Regions from separate parts of the Homo sapiens genome. Here region 1 is linked to region 2. Evidence: promoter capture Hi-C in 16 types of primary human blood cells and fetal thymus (Javierre and others, 2016). All regions are on one chromosome and are shown on one strand. Each heading gives the region's core, a stretch centred on a gene start or on the middle of the fragment in contact. The rest is flanking DNA. Distances are from core to core; before and after follow the strand shown.

Region 1 (5,965 bases), core at 2,846-5,345, 3.5 Mb after region 2:
CTCATTGCTGACTGTTTTCCTTAAAAGCTGGGAAGGCTGTGGGTCAATTCAGCTCGCCACCTGTTTCTGTACTGCCCACAAGCTGAGAATGAATTTTGTACTTTTAAATGGTTGGGGGGAGGGGAGAATATTTTCTGACACAAGATATATGACATTCACACTTGAGTGTCAAAGTTTTTAGGAACACAGCCACGCCCATTTGTTTACACTTTACTCCTTCCACTTTACAATGAAGAGGTATGAGGAGCTGCTACAGAAACCTTCTGGCTTGCAAAGTTTAAAATATTTTTTACCTGGCCCTTTACCAAAAAAAAGTTTTCCCTGCTTAAAAACACATTCTGATAGTGAAAGAGCTTTGCATTTAGAAAGCAGTCTTTCCCAGAAAAAATGGAAACTTGGTTGGCATTTGGGATTAAAGCTAGATAGGAGTATTTGAAAAGATCAGTTTAATCCCATTCCCCTTTTCTTTACTGATTTTCTAGCTAAAATCCTTAACTTTCCGTAACCAGTTCAGCATGTTGAAGATCAACTCTAATAAAGATTATAAAAATAGATAATATCTACCAGCTGCTCTCTCCTCTCTCCACCCCCAGGACTTAAACTGTGGAGCTCAGATACTTGAATTCTGGAGATTCCTAGGTTCAAATCTCAGCTCTTCCCCCTTAATAGCTTTGGAAACACTGGGTGAGTTATCCTCTCCTGTTTCATCTGTAAAATGGTGAGAGCAGCAGCCACCTCTGAGTTATGAGAAATTAAGTGGAGATACTGTATTCTGAGAACGGTGCCTAGCACACAGTGAATGCTCAATAAAGGTCAGTAAAACTAGATTATCTTCTTCAACATTCCCCATCCCAACTCACCCTATGACAGATGAGAAAAGCATGGCTCACAAAGGATATGAAACAATAACAATTAACTGGCTTCACTTCCTGCTAATTATGCTAAAGCTAAGCAACCAGGTGATAGAAATCAGAAGCTGGAGGAAAGTTAGAAACCTTCTGAAGCATGTCACAGTTCTGGGTCTTAAAATAGGTACTTGTTGTCCCTATAATTAATAATCCAGTTTGGTTTCAACCCTGGTAAGTGGAATTAGTCAAGGGAGGCACCACTTCCCAGCCCTAAAAATACCAGGGAGGGTAGGTATCTATTCGCATCTCATAGAACCTTCTGACGGAAAAACACCCAGTTCACAGATAAACTTTTCCTTAGTAAATGAAACCATCGCCTCAGGGCATTTCCATAGAATACACACTTCACCAGATCCCCAGTGTTGGACAGACCACAGTGGGTTTTCCATTGCATCAGAAGATGGGACAAAGGCAAGGTACAAAGACTGCTGCAGGGAACTGAGTATGCAGGCATCTAGCGCAGAAAGGGTTAAAGGAACCTGCCCCTTGCAGAGGTGGTTTTGTTTCGCAATGACTCTGCTAAAATGGAATCCCGTGGAAGCCAGCTTTCCTATCTCGTTTTTAATCTCTTCCCTCGCCAAAACAAAGGATAAAAACCCAAATAACTTTTAAGAGTGCTGGGTTGATTACTATAATAATCAGCACTTACTGCTATTGTAATTTCATCAACTCTTTATACTGAGTTGTGACTAAACGCTATTAAAAAATCTACATGGGAAAACAGTTTGATCCATACAATCAACTTTCCAATTTTTGTGCAAAATATATAACAAGCTAAGTTTTCAGTGACACAAGCAAGCTCTGCTTTCCTCTTGCAGTACGTGACCAGTTTACTTTGCTGTGTCAAATGATGTCCTGTTGTGGAATCAGGTCTTCATTTGCAGTACGTTTTAAGGATATATTTTTGTTCTCCCCCCTCAATAATGCCTTATTTTTTCCTGTTTTGTTAGATGACTTTCAAGTTCACTATATTTCAATAACACTTATATTTAAATATTAGAAAATAAGACTAGTCATTTCACTCAGGAAACCTTGTGTGTTAGTGCACAATCTGAGTTGGTCATCCCCCGCTAAACCCTAGCAAGACAATTTCATGGTCTCGTTTGTTGTGATGCAATACCAAAAGCCTCTAACTAGATGGATTGACGTGTAATTTACCTGTCTGGCTTCCCGACTCAAGTGTCAAGTAGCAACTTCAGGTCTAGCTAAGGTTCAGTTCCTGCATTACACTGACATTACTACACAGGATTATCTTAAAACTGACACTGATCTCTATAGTTATTCACCATTAAACCTAGAATGATATTTTAGGCACACATATACCTAGGACTACCTTCATGTCTCGTGGACTGTTTTTCAGAGGGTAGTAGCTGCTTTAATTACTTCTTTTCATAATTTTTGGCCTTATTTCCTTTCACTTTTTTCTAAACCTGTTTATTTTTCTCATTACTTAAATAGAAAACAGAAAAGGGAAATTAGTCTAGAGAAAAGTTCGCAATGATCCAACCAGGTAACATTATTTTCCAAGCTACATATATTTTACTAACGTCTCATAACTTGCTAAAATTATTGCTCGACTTTGTCCACGACTTTTGATTAAGTTATAAGCTTCTAGAGAAACTATTCTAAATTCTTTGTACTTTACTTCTTACCTAACCCAGTACAAGTATGCGATAAACTTTCAGGAAACGAATTCACCAAAGCACTTCACTTCTGGCATGAATATGTACCCTGGGAACACCACAGGCCTTTTGGTTCCTCTTTGGTGGAATGCAGCTGCGACGCTCTATATGTGGCTATGCAAAGTTAGCTAATATCCTACTCCTCCCAGTTTCTTCACCACCAAGTCTACTAATTTTCCAAAAACACAAGGTTAGCCCGAAGTTACTTCAGGTTTTCCATCTGTCAAGACGACGTAGAATAAAAATCCTCAGATTACCAACAGATCTCTGTAAACAGAAAAAGTTTAAAAATAAATGAGCTGTACAGCTTCCCAGACTCTCCCTTGAAAGGGAGATTAGTTGGTATCAGGATTAAACAGATCTTTGTAGTATTTCAATTTCCCACTCCCGCTGATCCGGACACTCATTTGTCCCATCTACCTGCAGAGAAGGTACAGGAAAGGGGTTGCAAGGGCACGCCCACCCTCCCGACTGCAAGCGGAGGGAAGGCCGCAGCCCGAAGCTGGCGGAGCTGGGCCGGCCCGGGCGACCCCCGGGTGGGCTCACCCGGCAGCCGCAGTGGGGCCCGCGAGCGCCCCCGCCGGCCCAGCTGATGGAGGCCACGTGACGCCAGCCGGCCAATCGGGAGGGACCGGGGCGGCAGAGCGCGGCGGCGGCGGTGGCGGCGGGGCCTCCCTCGGCACAACAAACACGAGCAGGAAACAGCTGAGCGGGTGGCCGGGGGGCTCTCTTGGTCCCGACACCCGGCGGGCTGCCCAACCGTCACCCTGCGCTGTCAGTCCCGGGTCCTCTGGGCAGGAGGGCGGGGGAGGCGGACGTTCATGGGGGGGAGGGGGCAAAGGGAGACACCGCCCCAGCCCGGTGGCTGGGCCGCTTGGGCCGGGCGTGGGCCCTGCTCAGGACGGTTCACGCCGTGCGGTCATCGCGGCCCAAACAACTCGGTCAAGTTCCGACTTGGATTCGGGGCGGAGACCGGGCGCGCCCCCGACTATGCGACGGGTGGGGGCGGGGCAGCCGCGGCGCGGCGCGGCGGGTTGGGGGTCGCGGCCAGACCGTCCGCCCAGGGGGCGCCGTGGGCCTCGGCGGCGGGCCTCGGAGGACGCGACGGGGAAACGGGGCGGAGGCGCGGGCGCCGCGCGGAGGGGTTGCGGCTGTTGTCGCACCGGTCGCCCGGCTGCGCGGCGGGGGCGGGCCGACGGCGGCCGCCGCGCCAGGCCTCACAAAGAGCAAACAGCCCCGCGCGTCCGCCCGCGGTCCCAGCGCCGGGGCCCACCCTGAAGGATCTGGGGCGGCCGCTCTGGGACCCCGGGAAGAGCGCGGCGAGGAAGAGGCACTTCCTGCCTGGGCCCCCCACCCTGGGCCGATTCCCGAGTGCCTCGAAGCCGCCCGACCCGAACGGGCGCCTCAGTCCCCACCGGCCCCGAGTCCAGCCCCTCCCGCGGGACTCACCCTGAGCGGCGGTGAGATCCGCGGCTGCCAGCGGCTTGTCGCTCTTCAGCTGGTATGAAGCCCCTCGGCCACCCGAGTCTCCAGGTTTAGTCAGGCCCTGGCCTTGGCCCCGCCTCTCCCTGGTTGGGCCTCAACGTCAGTCACCCGGCGTGGCTCCGCCCCCCCGCAGTCAGCTCTCCCGGTTGGCCCAGAACGCCCTTTATTTCTAGGCCCCGCCCCTGTCCTCGGCCTCCTGCCTTTTTCGCGGGGCCCCGCCCCTTCTCTGGCTCACCCTCCCCCACTCCCGCACCCCTCCGCTTCGCGGCCCACCCCTCTCAGAAGCCGCAGACCCAGGGCAGGCTTGCGACAGCTCGCCCCGCCCCTGACCCAGCACCTCGGACTCGTACAGCCAATCAAAGAGGCTAACTCTGCCCCTTCTCTCGAGGCGGCCAATGTAGTCAGTCTGGGGACCCACCTCCCCCTTTCAGCTGAGCGCACACAACACAGCATCCACGTGAGTCAGCTTCTTAAAGGCGAAGGCTTGGCCTGTCTAATTGCGGCAGCTGCGAGACATCGCACGTCATTAGCGTCACCAGGTAGCGGCTGGAGCCGAGCTTCCTGATACCTAGTGAGCCGCGGTGATGACAAATGAAAACAATAAGCTGTTTCCTAGACAAACAGCTGCCTAGGTAACTAAAGTGCACCGTGTAATTCGTTTCTTGGAGGCCGTTTCCCCGACCACCCCTGGTAGAGGGCTGCCTTTTGCTTTCAAACCCCTAGCCCTCGAGTCTAAGCGCATAGGCACTCCTAAGAAACATCTGTGGATACAGGATTTTTCAACTGCGCTTGACTTTATTTACAACTCATTTGAATGTTTTTTCTGGGTAGTGGAAATGATTCTCAAAAAGATGAAGAAATTCAGTCTTCTATATGGCGAATTTCTGCCTCAGAGAGTGAGATTTGTTCATTGCAAAGAGCAGCTGTTCCCTTAACCCTTATCAATGCTTAAGATGGAAGATGTTGCTTCTCATTCCATTAGAGTTGCCCAGGTACTTACATCTCTGTTAGCTGACTTTCGGGATAAAACCAAAATATTTGATGACGCATACCTCTCAGATTAAAAATGTAGGTTAGCATTTGGGGCTAGTTTGCAACATGTTTAAAGTCATTATTGGTGGAAGAGAAGCTGCTAAGCAAATTCTAGCACTTGACTCCCGCTCATCCCCAAATCCACAAGTATTTTCATTTAGTTCGTCTGAAGTTTACCTGAGCATCAAAGGCAAAAGGACTAGTTATCTTTTAATAAGTGAGTTTTCCAGGAGATAAGTTTTTTTGTTTGTTTGTTTCAGACGGAGTCTTGCTCTGTCGCCCAGGCTCGAGTGCAGTGGCATGATCTTGGCTCACTGCAACCTCCGCCTCCCGGGTTCAAGCAATTCTCCTGCCTCTGCCTCCTGAGTAGCTGGAATTACAGGCGCACACCACCACGCCCGGCTAATTTTTGTATTTTTAGTAGAGACGGGGTTTCACCATATTGGCCAGGTTGGTCTCGAACTCCTGACCTCGTGATCCGCCCGCCTCGGCCTCCTGAAGTGCTGGGATTACAGGCATGAGCCACTGTGCCTGGCCAGAAGTTTTAAACATACAGTATTTTAGTTTATTTTCCTTTCTATTTCTTTATTTTCAATTAACAATATTTAATATAAAAGTTACACGTTTATTGTAGGAAGATCATACTGCCTCATTTGATAAGAGACTTCTGTCTTCTAACAGCTTCATATGTATCCTATTCTTCCCAAATTGAATGTATTATACATAGAAGCATATTGTACTTCCTGTTTTTCAACCTGCTTTTTTTTTTCACTCAACAATGTGCTATAGCCATCCTTTCATGTCAGATGTGTCTTTTATCTACAAATTTACCTTTGTCTCCATAGTTTTCCGTAGTAT
Region 2 (6,218 bases), core at 1,698-4,197:
TCAACTGCAGTCTGAAGAGAGGGTTGAGTTGGCCAGGATTGCAATCAGCCAAAAGAGACAGCAACAAACTGAACAGGTCACCTACATGGTAATGATAACTCCCTACTTAGGACCCTTAGGGATGAACCAAGGCATGAAGAAACCAGTGAAGCCCTAAAACACGCTCATTGCAATGAGACGTATGGTGAGGCCCTGATATGCCATGCTTACCGCTGGTCTGCCAGCCCCTGCCCCTCTGCCTCACTTGGGTCCCACCTGGAAGTCATTTTTAATTAATTTTTTTTTTTTTAACAGAGACAGAGTCTTGCTATGTTGCTCAAGCTGGCCTTGAACCCCTGGCTTCAAGTAATCGTCCTGCCTCAGCCTCCCAAAGTGCTGGGATTGCAGGTCTGAACTACCGCGCCAGACCCTAGAAGGGTTTTAAGTTGGTATTTTATATTCTTTTTTGAGAAAGAATCTAGAATCAAAGTCATCAGTAAAAGGGCATGTGCTGGCACTTGTGGGTGTGCCTTCTCACAAGAGTACCCTTAAGTAATTATTCAGCCTCTAGGTGAACACCTTCTAGACAGGAAGCTCATCATCTCTCAACGATACCTAAGTCACTTTAAGACTACTCTTAGAGTGTTAGAAAAATTCTTTCTTATACTGATCTGATGCAAAAACCAGAGCTTCCTCACTTCCAAATCATTGTTCCTTTCATTCTAGTAAACTCAGTTTCAAAGAGGTCTTCAGATATCAGGTTCCATTATAAACATAAATAATTTCTAAATAAAATGCAAAAGATTCCTCGTAGATCCCATTAAAATGATGACAATTTTTTTTCTTTCTTTCTGAGCCTGCCTGGTAGGGAACACAATTTTGTTTAAGTAGTATTTAAAAGCTTTTTTTAATTGCAGAGAAAGCCATTGTAGAATTCCTTTAAACCATAATATATAAAAATTTCATATCAGCAATCCTTCATTTAAGCTAACGATGTGAATTAGAAAGAGAATACTATTCCTGCAAAAGCTGGATTTTTTTTAAAGAAAGAAAGGGAATACTAATACTTTTAGGGAAGTCATCACTCGTTCATTCACTAATATTGAACACAATATTATATTCAATATTAGTTCAATATTGAACACAGCTTACATCAAAAGTGAGTCAAGAATGAAACCCTTTTTCTTTCAAAATTGATTTTTGTATTAGGCATGACTTTTTGTTTAGCACCTTCAACAACCCTATGAGGAAAATAATTATTCAATTATTATAAGGTAATTATGTACAATATATACAAGTTTAAACAAATTCAACTAGCTAAATTTTCCTCTTTTCACATCCTGCGTATAAATCCTTATTTGACTAGTCAAAAAAGAAGGAATATGGATTTAGATATACCTCAATCTCAAAATCTAGTTTCATACTTACAGGCATTAAGATCGCTGAAGATTATTAAGCCACTCAGCCTTAGTGTCCTCATCTGTAGAATGTGACTAATATTCACACAGCCTTATGGTGACTGCATCATAATGGGCCATATCAAGTGCCCATGGTAAGTGCAGAAAACCTACCCCCACTTCAGATGATGCAAAATAAGGAAACTGAAAAAGGTACTACTGGCCGGGCGCGGTGGCTCACGCCTGTAATCCCAGCACTTTGGGAGGCCAAGGTGGGCGGACCACAAGGTCAGGAGATCGAGACCATCCTGGCTAACATGGTGAAACCCCGTCTCTACTAAAAATACAAAAAATTAGCTGGGTGTGGTGGTGAACGCCTGTGGTCCCAGCTACTTGGGAGGCTGAGGCAGAATAATGGCGTGAACCCGGGAGGCGGAGCTTGCAGTGAGCCGAGATCGCACCACTGCACTCCAGCCTGAGCGACAGAGCAAGACTCCGTCTCATAAAAAAAAAAAAAAAAAAAGAAAGAAAAGAAAAAGGTACTACTAAGGATAGGAACATCTATCCATCAGACACAAAAATGCTTGAGAACTATAGAATAAAATCAACAGGTATCAATATGAAAACTCTTTAATTAAATGCCTACACGATTTAACAGTACGCCAACTTATGGTTAAATATAGTTTTCTAAATATGCCATCACTTTGAAAACATTTCTGATTTTTCAGTAATTTCTAAACACACCCTCAGTAACTGCCAAGATATCACAACACATCCACATCGTGAACTCAATGTTTCACCCGGGCAAATAATGTCAAAAGTAATGACAGTACAGCCAAAAAGTTTATTCACTGTCTAAACTACGTGGATTTAAAAATATTCTATTCTATTTGCTATGGAGTGAAGCTCCCCTTCTCCTTAAAATAACATGCTTAGTGTCTGGGAAGGGCTTTAGACATCAGGTAGAGAATGCATGAGGGAAAACGACCCAACTTTCTGAACATCCATAGTCTGCGGAAAGTTGGCTCATCCCTAACCCTGAAATAAAGCTACTGCAGCCACGAGGAAATCAAATGGCACGCTATCTGCCGTCTGCACTTGGCCCGCACCCGCGTCCTGAAGACGGGAGCGCAAGAATTCTCCCTTTCTACATGACCTGCAAGCTAAGGCTAGCACATGCCGGCACCCTACGAAGAGCCACCCGATCTCCTGTCTGGGATGCAGAGACTCGGTTTAACAGCCGACTCCACCCGCGTCCCGAGACTCTTCCAAGCTCCTTCCCGGCCCGCCGCGCCCCCTACATTCGCACATGCGTACACCCAATAACGAGAGCCGAGAGCGCTCCCCTTCGCGTGGTCCCCACGCCCAGCTGCCACGCAGCCGGTCCTCCTACCCTTCTCTGGGCGGCTAGCTTCACGATCCAGTAACGCGCATGTGCAAAACTGCGGGCCCTGTAATTCTTTAGTGGGCAGGGGTGGGGCGGTCAGTGGGACCAAGTTTCTTGCGCACGCTCCGGACATGCGCAGTGCGGGAGCTGAGGCGCCAGCTGTGGATTTGGAAGTTCCGGGGAAGTCGCGCATGCGCGAGTGTACGCGTTGCCGGCGAAGAGGGGAGCCTGACGACTCGGAAATTTGAATACCACAGTAGCATGGAGTGTGACCTCATGGAGACTGACATCTTGGAGTCGTTGGAAGATCTAGGGTAAGATTGTCAGGGCACGGGTCTCCCAAGCCCCACGCTGCCGGCCCCCTGGGAACACCTCCTGCGCCCCAGTCTGAGACACCTGCCTCTCCACGCCGCACCCCGTGGCTCCTGGCTGTCGCTTCCCTTTGGCCCCGGCACCCCCAATGCCACGTCCACTGTCTGCACTGCTAGCTCGGGGTCCTCCAATCCCAACACCCCTAGGCCTGCCCAGTGCTCCCTGCAGGCGAGCTACCCGCAGCGTTTGTCAGTCATGCGTGTCATTGTCTGGGCTCTGATTTTCGCCACCCCCACTCCCCGAGCTTCTCTCCTCGCTTCATCCTCCTGCCCTACCCCTTAACCCCTCAACTCTAAAGGTTGCCAAAGTTGATTCTGCTTTCCTACTTGTTCTCCAAATTTCCTACTCCCATCTTGAGCCCCTCCTCCTACCCCACCCCACTTCTCTCAAAATTTCTCCTTTGCCCAGTCATCTCTGCATGCACCCAGGCTTCGCTAAGCCACTTGTATGGGCGCTGCATCTGTTCCGCTGGCCAGCTCGCTTGTGCATCTAACCTATCACCACGTCCCTGGGAACCACCAGCAGTTTGCTTTGACTCTGTGATACTCTGCCTCGTTGAGCCCCATTAGACCAGGGTCGTCTTCACCCACGAAGAACCTGCGTATTTGTTTTGCATTGTGTCTCTCCTTCTCCTGATATTTATTCAACCATAATTCATCAGTATCTAGAAGCTGGAAATAGGGTTTGTTATCTCACTGGGTCACCCAGATCAGTGTACTCTATTAAACTTGAGAACGTGGACCCTCTTGGGCTAAATGTGGTTCCAGAAACAAATTGTATGGTTAGATACTTACCTACAGGTACGGTATCAAAACAAAGTACAGATTTAGCTAGCTGTATTTCTAAGTAACAAGTTCTTTATCAAAATTTTCTCTTAGGTTTTTCCATGACAAGGAAACCTTTGAGAGAAACCTTTCTTTAGGAAAAAACACCTTGAGGATTCCCAAAGTCTGCCTATTTGAATAATTTACTACCCTAGTAGAAATTTTTAGGAACGAAGTAGTCTTGCTTATCATCTGTCTTTGTCACAGTGAAATACTATTGTTCTTTTCTTGGAAACTTGCTCTGAATTTTTATAAATATTCCAGACTTTAGGGGGCTTCTTTCTTTCATTAGGGCATATGTTAAAGTCATTCAGCAAAATAGTCTCTTTAGTTGACATCTCAGACTGAATCGCTTGTTCACACATGAAACCATTCATTCATTAGGACTTTTTTAGGAACAGTTTCTTTGTGGCAGTGTTAGGCCCTTAGAGTACAAGGTGAGGTGGAAGAGGGGTTCACAGGATACTGGGAAAATATGCTGTGAGGAGCCCTGAGGAGGGTCCCTTTACTGGGAAAGGAAATGAAATCCTAGAAGCTTCTTTCTGGAATAAATGACACTATAGTACTGTAGTGGAATGAGTGGAATGAAAGGAAGGGGGTAGACCTTATTAAATGTAGTCTTTCTGCATGGATAGTGGTCACTTAAGAATTGGCCACGGATGCTGTTTCTTCCCATTATTGTCTTTTTTTTTCCCCCTCCTTTTTTTAACTTTTTATTCTTTTGGGTACTGTACAAGTAATTGTTACTGTAGTAATTGTAATCACATAACTACTTGACATAGAGTGTAATGTAAACCATGGATTTTCTGAAAACTGTTATAAATTTTAACCTTAACTACTTAGTTTGGTGGCATTCAAATATTAAAAGTCAGCCTTAATTAACTGAAATGTACTTTTAAAGGATTAACTGAGAAATATTAGAATTAAATGACTACCTTTTCTATTTATTTATTTATTAAGAGATGAGGTCTTGCTCTGGTGACCAGGCTGGTCTCGAACTCCTAGCCTCAAGCGATCCTCCCACTTCAGGCTCCGGAGTAGCTGGGACTACAGGTGTATGCCACTGATCCTGGCAAATAGTCATCTTTTATCTCTTACCTGGCACACAGTAGGAATTCAGTAACTACTTGTTGAATAAACTAATGAAGTCTAAATGTGAAACTCAAGGAGAAACTTCTAGGCCTAGTCTTTTGATTTCAGTGTCTAATAATACATAGTTTATAAATCTAGATGCCAGACTACATGTGATCTCATTTTTTTATGTATGATTTGTTTTCATTTTGTTGCATATACTGTATAAACCTATAATCATATTTTAAAGGGTTTGAGAACTGTCATTTCTCTAACATACCTGTAGTTCTCAACATTATATTATCTTTTTTTTTTTTTTTTTTTGATACGGAGTCTTGCTCTGTCGCCCAGGCTGGAGTGCAGTAGTGCGATCTCGGCTAACTGCAAGCTCTGCCTCCTGGATTCAAGCCATTCTCCTGCCTCAGCCTCCTGAGTAGCTGAGACTACAGGCGCCCTCCACCATGCCTGGTTAATTTTTTTGTATTTTTATTAGAGATGGGGTTTCATCGTGTTAGCCAGGATCGTCTTGGTCTCCTGACCTCGTGATCCACCTGCCTCGGCCTCCCAAAGTGCTGGGATTACAGGCGTGAGCCACCACGCCTGGCCTAAACATTATATTATCTTAAGCATATTTATTGTATCATCTTAAGTAAGCATTATTATCAATATTTAAGAGAATGTAAAGCAATCTGAATAATATGTATTTAAGATTACTTGGAGTGACAGAAATCTTATATTTTAGAATATTGGTGATTGGAGTTCATTATGACTGTCATCTTTTATGAATGTTTGAACATTTTTAAATTTTTTAAAATTATATTGGAATCACTTACAAAGGATTAGGATTCAGATGCGCCAGTTCATTAACTGCCAATATTTATTAACCTAACCTGACGTTTCTTTGGTACTAGAATGTCTTACTAGTCTTAACTGGCATTAAATTTATAAAAATGATATAAATGGTTAACTGGAAAGTTTTTACTTTTAAAGGAAGTCATTAAAAACCTAACTAAGCCTGGGCAACATAGTAAGACCCCTGGCTATTTTATAAAAAATAAAAAAAAAGCCAGGTTTGGTGGCTTGTGCCTTCACTGCACTTCAGCCTATGTGACAGTGCAAGACCTCATCTCAAAATAAAAACATAATCTAGTTGTTTTCTGGAAAATTTTTAGAAAAGATAACCTAAGT

The links. The method cuts DNA at HindIII sites, captures the fragments that hold promoters and counts their contacts. A CHiCAGO score of 5 or more calls a contact.
Region 1: the fragment with the promoter of YPEL5 here is called in contact with the fragment with the promoter of FAM98A in region 2 in 1 of 17 cell types (naive CD4 T cells); the score reaches 5.2 in naive CD4 T cells.

Annotation. Positions count from the first base shown.
Region 1 is chr2:30,145,137-30,151,101 of GRCh38, reverse strand. It overlaps YPEL5 (yippee like 5), which reads right to left and starts at 4,095. Exons shown (of 3, transcript NM_016061.3): 1 at 4,040-4,095. RefSeq lists silencers at 2,982-3,421, 3,712-3,881, 3,912-4,491. The HindIII fragment of the contact is 10,963 bases long and covers 2,519-5,965 here.
Region 2 is chr2:33,596,028-33,602,245 of GRCh38, reverse strand. It overlaps FAM98A (family with sequence similarity 98 member A), which reads left to right and starts at 2,947. Exons shown (of 8, transcript NM_015475.5): 1 at 2,947-3,077. The coding sequence starts at 3,025. LOC105374455 (a long non-coding RNA gene) reads right to left here and starts at 2,901. Exons shown (of 3, transcript XR_939942.3): 1 at 1,408-2,901. It also overlaps the pseudogene ATP6V0E1P3. RefSeq lists enhancers at 2,434-2,663, 2,804-2,853, 2,884-2,953, 3,504-3,693. The HindIII fragment of the contact is 3,614 bases long and covers 883-4,496 here.